3 separate regions of the Homo sapiens genome follow, and all the other regions are linked to region 2. Evidence: promoter capture Hi-C in 16 types of primary human blood cells and fetal thymus (Javierre and others, 2016). All regions are on one chromosome and are shown on one strand. Each heading gives the region's core, a stretch centred on a gene start or on the middle of the fragment in contact. The rest is flanking DNA. Distances are from core to core; before and after follow the strand shown. Region 1 overlaps MSH3 (mutS homolog 3). Region 2 holds the start of SERINC5 (serine incorporator 5). Region 3 overlaps LINC01337 (long intergenic non-protein coding RNA 1337).

Region 1 (3,008 bases), core at 453-2,952, 420 kb after region 2:
ATCCCTGGGTGTCCATTCCCTCCAGAGGTGTCTGTAATCCAGACTTTGAAGATGATAATTTCCTTGCTTTTAGTTGGAGCTTCTAGTTCCAGCCTTGCCACCTTAAACGTTATATACAAATGTAAATATAGTGTGTGTATTCTTTTGGGTTTTGCTCCTTTTGTTTACCATTTTGTATGTGAGATTTATTTACATGTGTCGCTGTAGTTCTCTCATTGCCTTTTCCTATTTCATTTTATGATCTACAGTTTATTCATTCCTGTTGATGGACATGTGCATTCTTTCTAGTTTACAGTTGTACAGAGAATGCTGCTGTAAATATTTTTGTATGTCTTGTATCGTATACAAATGCCTGAGTTTCTCCAGAGTATATCCTTGGGGGAGGAATTGCTGAATTATAGGGTGTGGATACTTCAACATTCCTAGATAATGCCTTGCTGTTGTCAGAAGTGGCTTTCCATCAGTAGTATATGAACATAGGGATTGGTGATTTTTCCTCTTTTTAGCTAATGCAGCCTGTAACTAGCCCCCATGGCTTTCATAAGCATCCGTAGTGGCTAACAGTGTGGATTGGGGAGTAGTCAGATTTCCTGGGTTTGAATCTTGACTCTACTCCATTGTCACTCTGGGACCTTGGCTAGAAACTTCCTATCACTTCTCCAAACCATGATCTTTTCCAGTTTATCTTTGCTATTATTGGCTTAGGATGTTAGGGAGCAGGTTCAAGTTGGCATGATTATTCTACTGGATAGACTGTCTACTTGGGCTTCATTCAGAGTTTGATAAAGTATACATTTTATGTGTTACTTTGATGTATGAAGTAGTAATTTACTACAGTACTGGTGGTCTGGTTACTAGGACCATGTCACTTGTTACTTTGAGTGATAACTACTATTTGTACAGTGCTTTATAGTTTACAAATAATTCCTGTTTATTTTATAATTTGATCCTTACAATAACCTTATGAGAGAAGTAGGCTGGTTTGGTTCCATTTACAGAGGAAGAAACTGAGGCCTGGCAGTGTTTGGTAACTTGCCATAGTCACTCCGTTAGGTATATTAACTCCAGGCCTTGTATTCAGGGCGGCTCTCGGAAATCTGATTTATAGTATCATTTAGATATCTGTGAGTCTGACTCTTCGTGTAAGAGTCCTGAAAAGCAGACAGGTTTCTAACACTTTAGAAATAGAGTACATACATACTCCTGAGTGTATCATCTTTACTTTTTCCATGTTTATGCTGTGTTATAGCCATAACTGGGGAAATACATTTTTTCTGTAACATTATATTTGTATTTGTTTTTAGGGAGTGCAGCCTGCCACAGGCGAGGTTGTGTTTGATAGTTTCCAGGACTCTGCTTCTCGTTCAGAGCTAGAAACCCGGATGTCAAGCCTGCAGCCAGTAGAGCTGCTGCTTCCTTCGGCCTTGTCCGAGCAAACAGAGGCGCTCATCCACAGAGCCACATCTGTTAGGTAAGTTGGCACATCACTGGAATATAATACCGATTCTGAAACTTAGGTTTAGTTCCAAAACTGATACTTATTAAAGTTGCTAAAAATAGTTTTTACTTACAAAAATTATATTTCCACTGTAGTAGTGGAAATTTAAAAAAAAAAGTAAAACAACAAAGCTGGGCATGGTGGCACATGCATGTAATCTCAGCCACTTGGGAGGCTGAGGAGGAAGGATTGCTTGAGCCCCGGAATCTGAGACCAGCCTGGGCAACTAAGGTGAGATCTCATATCTAAAAAACAAATAGAAGAAACACCACCTACCCCTACTATCACCTTAATGTAGAACTTTAGAAGGCAGTCTTTTTGAAGAGGTTTCTGATATTTAATGATATTATTTGATAATTATGGGGTTTATGATATTTAATTATTGGTAATCTTCAGTTTCTAGAGATAATTTAGAGTTCACTTCTTACAAAGTTTATGTAACTTTGGAGATGCTTTGTCTGTGCTGCAAGTTTCAATTCATGGCTGTGTCCAGTGGTTTTGTTTACTGGATCTAAGATCAGACCACTTACGTATGAAGCAGTGTGCTAGGCGCTGTGCGTACAGAGGAAGAAGATGTGGTTATGATATATGTCTGGCAGAGTTTACAACCTCACATGAGAGTCAGATGTGTGCATACCTAACTGGACTTAAAGGCATGATGTATTAAGTGCTAAACGTGAAGGTGCCTTGTTGGAAAGACTCCGTACTGCCACCTGGAGTGTGGTGGGAAAGAGACCAGAAAGGTGTGCTGGGGCTTCAGCGAAGTAGACTGTATATTGACGAATTTGGACTTTGGACTAGGCAGAGAAGCCCATGAGGATTTTCATGTAGTAGGTAGACAAATCATTTAGAAAATCGAGGCCAGGCACGGTGGCTCACGCCTGTAATCCTAGCACTTTGGGAGGCTGAGGCGGGTGGATCACCTGAGGTCAGCAGTTCAAGACAGCTTGGCCAAAACCCCGTTTCTACTAAAAAAAAAAAATACAAAAATTAGCTGGGTGTGGTGGCAGACACCTGTATTCCCAGCTACCCCGGAGGCTGAGGCAGGATAATCGCTTGAACTTGGGAAGCAGAGGTTGCAATGAGCCAAGATCACACCACTTCACTCCAGCCTGGGCGAAAGAGCAAGACTCTTATCTCAAAAAAAAAAAAAGAAAATCAAACTGATTGATTAAGTGAAGTTCCATATGTTTCTTTGTCCTTAGTGTTGTGTTCATTTTCATTTGAATTTAATTTCTTTCGAAGTAGCTTTCATAATTTGTTTTTCTGATTATAAAACTAATATATGTTCATTCAGAAGACAAAAAAAAAAGGATAAATTCATAAGTTGAATTCTGTAACCCAGAGAAAATGACTGTTAAACATTTTGGCACATTATTTCCGTGTGTGTATATCACTTTTTTCCATTTGTGAACTTGCATTCCTGCTGCAAAATCACTTTTCTATTCTGTGGTTTTTTTTTTTTTAACTTTACAATTCCCCATTTTTAAAAACTTTATTGCAGAACATT
Region 2 (2,832 bases), core at 330-2,829:
TAGGAACTTGGGAATGGCAGAAAGAGCCTCAAGGGGACTTCAAGGGACCAGGACAGATGCCCCTAAAGAGCTGTATCATTACTACGTAATAAAAAGTGTCGCATCATATTGGAGAAAAAGTATTTCAAAACGGGAATAAAAGATTTGCAGAGCTTTCTGAAAACAGTCTTTCCTGGTCCACCTTGTTCTCAAATACCTGGTAAGGTGGTGACCATTCTCATTCTCTTTCTCTCTCTGCCTGACACAGGGAAAAAAAATCATTTCGTCTCAGTCGTCAAAAGCCTCAATTTCCTCAACTCTGAAAAGGCCAGCTTTAATGTATGCCAAGCACAGTATTAGACCTCAAAAACCAAGACAGCTCCACGTGGCCACTCTAAACAGGACAGATTATCTGCCAGTATAATCGCCGGTTACAGAAACCCACAGTTTAACCACTCCATCACTTACAGCTGGCCTCGATTGTGGAAAGGCTGAGTGTCAGCAAGAACACCCCGAACCAGGATGCTCCCTAGAGTCTGATTCGTTCGTGAAAACACTCCATTAAAACTCTGTACCGAAACGCTGATAATCCACATGTAAAGGGAGAAAAGAGCTCCACATCCAAGAGACTCACCTACTTCGTTTTTTCTAACTCTGCAGGAAGGAGTGAAACCAGCATTACAGGGCTAAGACGTACTAATTCTACACTGATGCAGTAACTGGTAGGAGACATAATGTTTTAAGACATCATAGGTTTAAATAGGCGAGAGTTAAAAAACAGGTTCGAACAAGTTTATTTGCAAAGAGAGGCAGGAAGGTTCCAGCCCTACCCAGGCAGTCGTGCTAGTACCGAGCCAGGGTTGGGTCGGGAAATTCAGGAAGCAGGGCTGAGTTTTCCCTTCGCCCAGACCTGCGCCCGGTAGTTTGGAAGTCAGGCTTCGAGACATTCTCAAAGGTACAGAGCCCACGCTCGACTACGAGATGCCAAGCGCAACCTGCCTGGGTTGTTTGACCCGAGTTTTATTCAGGGCATAGCAAAGGAGACGGTGCCTAAACCCACTTTTCTTCCTGGATTCATCCGACAAGCAGAGTGGAGAGGGCTACGGAGCTCAGCGCTATTCACCAGTGCTCGGCGCAAGAGGCGACACGCCCCTGGAGCAGTCGGGATCCTCCGCCCGAGCCCGGCACGCCCCGCTCCACGCGGAGTCCCGGAGGCCGGACGGGAAGACCCCGGGGTAGCCTCTCGGGCTTCCCCCTGCCCCTTCCCGCCCGCCCAGGGCACAGGATTTCCCGGACGGCTGAGCGCCGCGGGGCCAGCCCGAGCGACCCACCCGGGCCCTACGTTCGGCCGCGGAGCTGGGAGCGCACCCAGGCAGGTCCTCCACGCCTGGACTCCTGGCCCGGTTCTCCGATCTGACAACCCCCGCGCTGCGCCCGGCCTCGCTCACCTGGCCCGCACAGCACTGAGCTGACATCGCGGCGGCCAATGCCGAAGGCGCGCTCGCTGGCTCCCCGCGCCGCACGGGCCCTCCTGGCTGCCTCGCGCCTCGAGCGCTGGGCTCAGCCGCAGCTCACACTTGAACGAAGATCAGCCTCGGCGAAGCGCCTAGGCGCCGAGGCCTGGGTAAAAACAACTGCGGCCAAGCCCCGCCCCGCCGCCGGCCCCGCCTCGCCCGCCCCCAGCCCCGCCCCGTGCCCGCCCCTTCCCGGGCGCCCGGCGGCGGAGCAGGCTCGACCCGGGCTCGCACTTCCGCTGGCGTCAGGCGGGTGGGCTGCTGCGATCACTTCCCGGTTGGGGCGCCGAGCTCCGGAGTCGGCCGCCAGCCTTTGGGCCCCACGCTCCGGGTCTGGTGCGCGGTCTGGCCGCGCTCGGGCCCTCGCCAAATGAGAGCGCAGCGCCTCTCCGCCTTCGGATCCAGAGAAAGAGCTTGTTGCTGCCTCTAAAAGGTTGGAGCCTTAGTAAGCGGTTCCTGCCTTTCCTGCACAGACCAGACCGCCGGGTGCTGGTCTGCGCTCTGCCGCGCGCCGACTGGGACAGCCCACCCACGAGATCCTTGTTCCTGAAATCCCTTTCCTTCCCTCATCTGCCAAGAAAACTTTCAACTTTTGGGCTCTCCGCGCCTCCCAAGCTTCCTCGAATCCCTGGGCCCTTGACTGTTCTGCCCTGATGGCACTTGGTGAGAGATCCATTGAGAGCCCTTTCCGTGCCTTCCTGAATATTGATATGTTTTCCAGCCTCTCCTCCTGCGCTGGCCCAAGGACTCATTTTCCGTCCCTGCTTCCTCACTAAAAAGAGGGTGCCCAATAATTGCTTGTTCCATACAGAAGGCAGGGAGGCCGTCTCTAGGTTTTCTCCCACTCAGATCTGCTGTCCTCACAGCCACCTCCCCAAGAGGAATGAAGGTATTTCTTTTTTTTTTTTCTTTTTTTTCTCTGAGACGGAGCTTCACTCTGTCGCCCAGGCTGGAGTGCAGTGACGCGATCTCGGCTCACTGCAACCTCTGCCTCCCGAGTAGCTGGGATTACAGGCGCCTGCCACCACGCCCGGCTAATTTTTTGTATTTTTAGTAGAGACGGGGTTTCACCATCTTGGCCAGGCTGGTCTCGAACTCCTGACCTCAGGTGATCCGCCCGCCTCGGCCTCCCAAAGTGCTGGGATTACAGGCGTGAGCCACCGCGCCCTGCCGGAATGAAGATATTTCTGTTAGTGCGATTTTTGCGCCAATCCCTTTGCTCTTTCAAATAAGCATTACCGTACCCATTTTAGCGGTGAGGCAACTGAAGCCCAGAGAGGTTAAATAACTTGCCCAAAGCCTCACAGCAAAGTTGAGGAAGTAAAACTGGGCCTGGAAT
Region 3 (2,700 bases), core at 1-2,500, 360 kb after region 2:
ATTGAAATTTGAGTTCAGAGGCTTAACTCAGATTAAACTTTTTGGCAAAAAGACTACATAAGTAGTGCTGTGTGCTTCATTTTGCCAAATTTCCCTTCACAGGGGTTATACCTGAGAATGATGTTAAGCTTTGAGTTTTATGGTGCAGTTCTAATTGACATTTATTTAATTTTAGTGATGTTAAGCAGCCTTTCATATGCTTAAGAGCCATTTCTGTTTAAGGGCTATTTTGTGACCTTCATATCATTTGCTCATTTGTTCTATCAGCTTTTGCTTTTTTTCTTCTCTATTTTTCAACTTTTAATATATTATGGAGACTGAAACTTCTAAAAAAAAATGTACTTGCTTGTGTAAACCTCAACAATTGTGTTTTCTCTTAGCATTCTCTATGAATTATTCTGGGTTTATAAGAAAAAATGATGACTTTCCCAGGTCCTTTTTTACTGAAAAGCAGGAATATGTGAGATGTTGTCCTTCACTTTCATCCCCAAATATAGATTACCTTGACAGGTATAATATATACACTTTATGGTCTAAGCATGTGTTGCCCTGACCTTTACATATCTATAGTCCTTGGCCAGCTCCATCTCACATTGGCTGCCAGTTCTGGGGCTCACATTCTTCAAGCATGTGCTCCTCCTCCTCAGAGAGCCTTGCTCCATCTCTCCATATTCATGGATGTCCAAAGAAAACAGTCCATTTTCTGTTGCTTATAACAGAATACCTGAAAACTGTGTAGTTTACAAAGTAAAGGCATTTATTTCTTACAGTTATGGAGGCTGAGAGTCCAAGGTTGAGGAGCCTCATCTGGTGAGAGCCTTCTTGCTGGTGGGGACTCTCTGCAGAGTCCCTGAGGAGGCACAGAACATCACATGGCAAGGGGGCTGAGCATGCTAGCTCAGGTCTGTTTTCCTCTTCTTATGAAGCCATCCATTAGTTTATTAACCCACTAATCTATTAATTCATTAATTCATGAGTAGATTAATCCATTGGTATATATATGAATATATATACATGAAAGAGACCCCAACTGACTCCCAGCAGGGTCCCTGGGCCATGGGGCCTTCACATTCAGGTTTTGGTTTGTGTGTGTATCTTGACACTCAACACCCTGTCCCGCCCAATCACATGAGGTGATTCTAGTGTTTGTTCCTTGCAACTAGTGATTTTAATGAACATTCCAAGGGGGACCCAGAATTGAAACCCAAGCCTTCTCTCTCTGAGGCCAGTGCTCTTTCCACCATTTCAGGGCAAGGGGCATTGTCTTTGTGCAGATTTTGATGGCGGTCCACGTGGAAAAAAGGGCACATATTACATGTATTTTATGACAATGAAAAACATGTAATTGTAAATGTGAGTGGGCAGAGACAGCCAGCAAGGGAAACCAAATCCCCTCTCAATTCAATGGAGACCAGTAGGAGGGTCTCAAGAAACTGAAAAGAGGCCCTGATTACAGTGCCTGTGTGTACAAGGCATCCGCCTTCTCTGCTCTCTCTCTACCCAAATCCAGGGGAGTCTCGGCTGCCCTCCCACCACCTCCACCTGCCAGTGCTTGCCCGCGGGGCTACAGAGGAAGACAGCAGCCACGCCTGCATATGGGCTTCTGCACTGCTAGCCTCAAGGCTGCCAGAGTGCAAAGAATGCCAGGATAATGGCTTTATCCACGTGTGGCCTTTTGACACATAAGCTAATGACTATATTCCAGGTACAAATAGTTCTTTCCCACGAGCTGTTTCTGCAGGTCTCCAAACAGACAATTACCCGGTTCCACTTAACAGAGTGACTCAAGGACGGATCTGAGGGCTGGGTCTTGTGAACGCGGGCTGTTGTCCTGCCCTCTCCCAGCTCTAACATTGTGCTGAAAAGTTAAAATACAAAACGCCAAAGCTCCCCAATCCCATCCCACGCCCCTGCCTGCGCAGCCTTTCATGCATTGAATGGGCAGCTTCATGATGCTGCTGCGACAATAGCGACAATAGCGGGGGCAGAGGAGTTTGCTCACCCTCTTGCTTCTCTGAAAAGATGCCTCTGCCTGACAGTTACCTACCCTGGGGGTCACCTTTTGAAACCGACTGAAAAGAGCTTATCTTATAATCAACATTTCCCAGAAATCACTCACAAGCCACAGGCTATGAAAAGAAACAGATTTTGAGAAACTGCATTCAATGGACATCATTGTTCAAAGTTTGCCGAGCTGAAGGCCGGCTGTTGGAATATTTTCAGATTTGATGTTCCAGAAGGATGCTTTTTAAAGCTGCAAATACCTGCAAGCACTGATAAAAAAGCAAGAGTGGGATGTCCTATTTGAGCTGGAATTTCAGGAGCATAGGGAAGATAATCTTCAAAGTTCGAGTTCACTTTTCATTTTTGATCTAAGCTTGAAAAATCACTGAACTATGGGGAAGGAGGTGACAATTAAGACCCAACCACAAATCAACAACCTGCGGAATGTGGTTGTCATTTTGCTTAGACTGAACCACAAACTCTTAAGCATACTGATAGATCAACAAATGTGACTTCAGTACTTAAAGAGAATGTTGCCTTCTTCCCAAGACACTTTCTGATGTGAAAATGGAATAACTCCAAGGAGGCATATAGCACAATTGCATTTTGTCACTTTGATTGCTGTGATGGTTAGTTTTCTCTGCTGACTTGGCCAGGCTTTAGTACTCAGTGATGTAAACAATCATGAATCTAGGT

Evidence for each region. Contacts are between HindIII fragments. The CHiCAGO score rates a contact against its expected background, and 5 or more counts as called.
Region 1: a fragment that was not itself captured here is called in contact with the fragment with the promoter of SERINC5 in region 2 in 1 of 17 cell types (neutrophils); the score reaches 8.5 in neutrophils.
Region 3: a contact is called between a fragment that was not itself captured here and the fragment with the promoter of SERINC5 in region 2, in 1 of 17 cell types (neutrophils). The highest score is 5.5, in neutrophils.

What each region holds. Positions count from the first base shown.
Region 1 is chr5:80,677,623-80,680,630 of GRCh38, forward strand. MSH3 (mutS homolog 3) reads left to right here. Exons shown (of 24, transcript NM_002439.5): 8 at 1,305-1,471. Among named protein-coding and RNA genes, the nearest start is that of DHFR, 24 kb to the left of the region's middle. The HindIII fragment of the contact is 5,096 bases long and covers 1-3,008 here.
Region 2 is chr5:80,254,469-80,257,300 of GRCh38, forward strand. SERINC5 (serine incorporator 5) reads right to left here and starts at 1,580. Exons shown (of 12, transcript NM_001174072.3): 1 at 1,428-1,580. The coding sequence starts at 1,454. RefSeq lists silencers at 1,063-1,342, 1,453-1,892 and enhancers at 1,746-2,679, 2,680-2,832. The HindIII fragment of the contact is 9,277 bases long and covers 1-2,106 here.
Region 3 is chr5:80,613,767-80,616,466 of GRCh38, forward strand. The region is part of intron 1 of LINC01337 (long intergenic non-protein coding RNA 1337); the gene reads right to left. Among named protein-coding and RNA genes, the nearest start is that of LINC01337, 7.4 kb to the right of the region's middle. The HindIII fragment of the contact is 2,249 bases long and covers 127-2,375 here.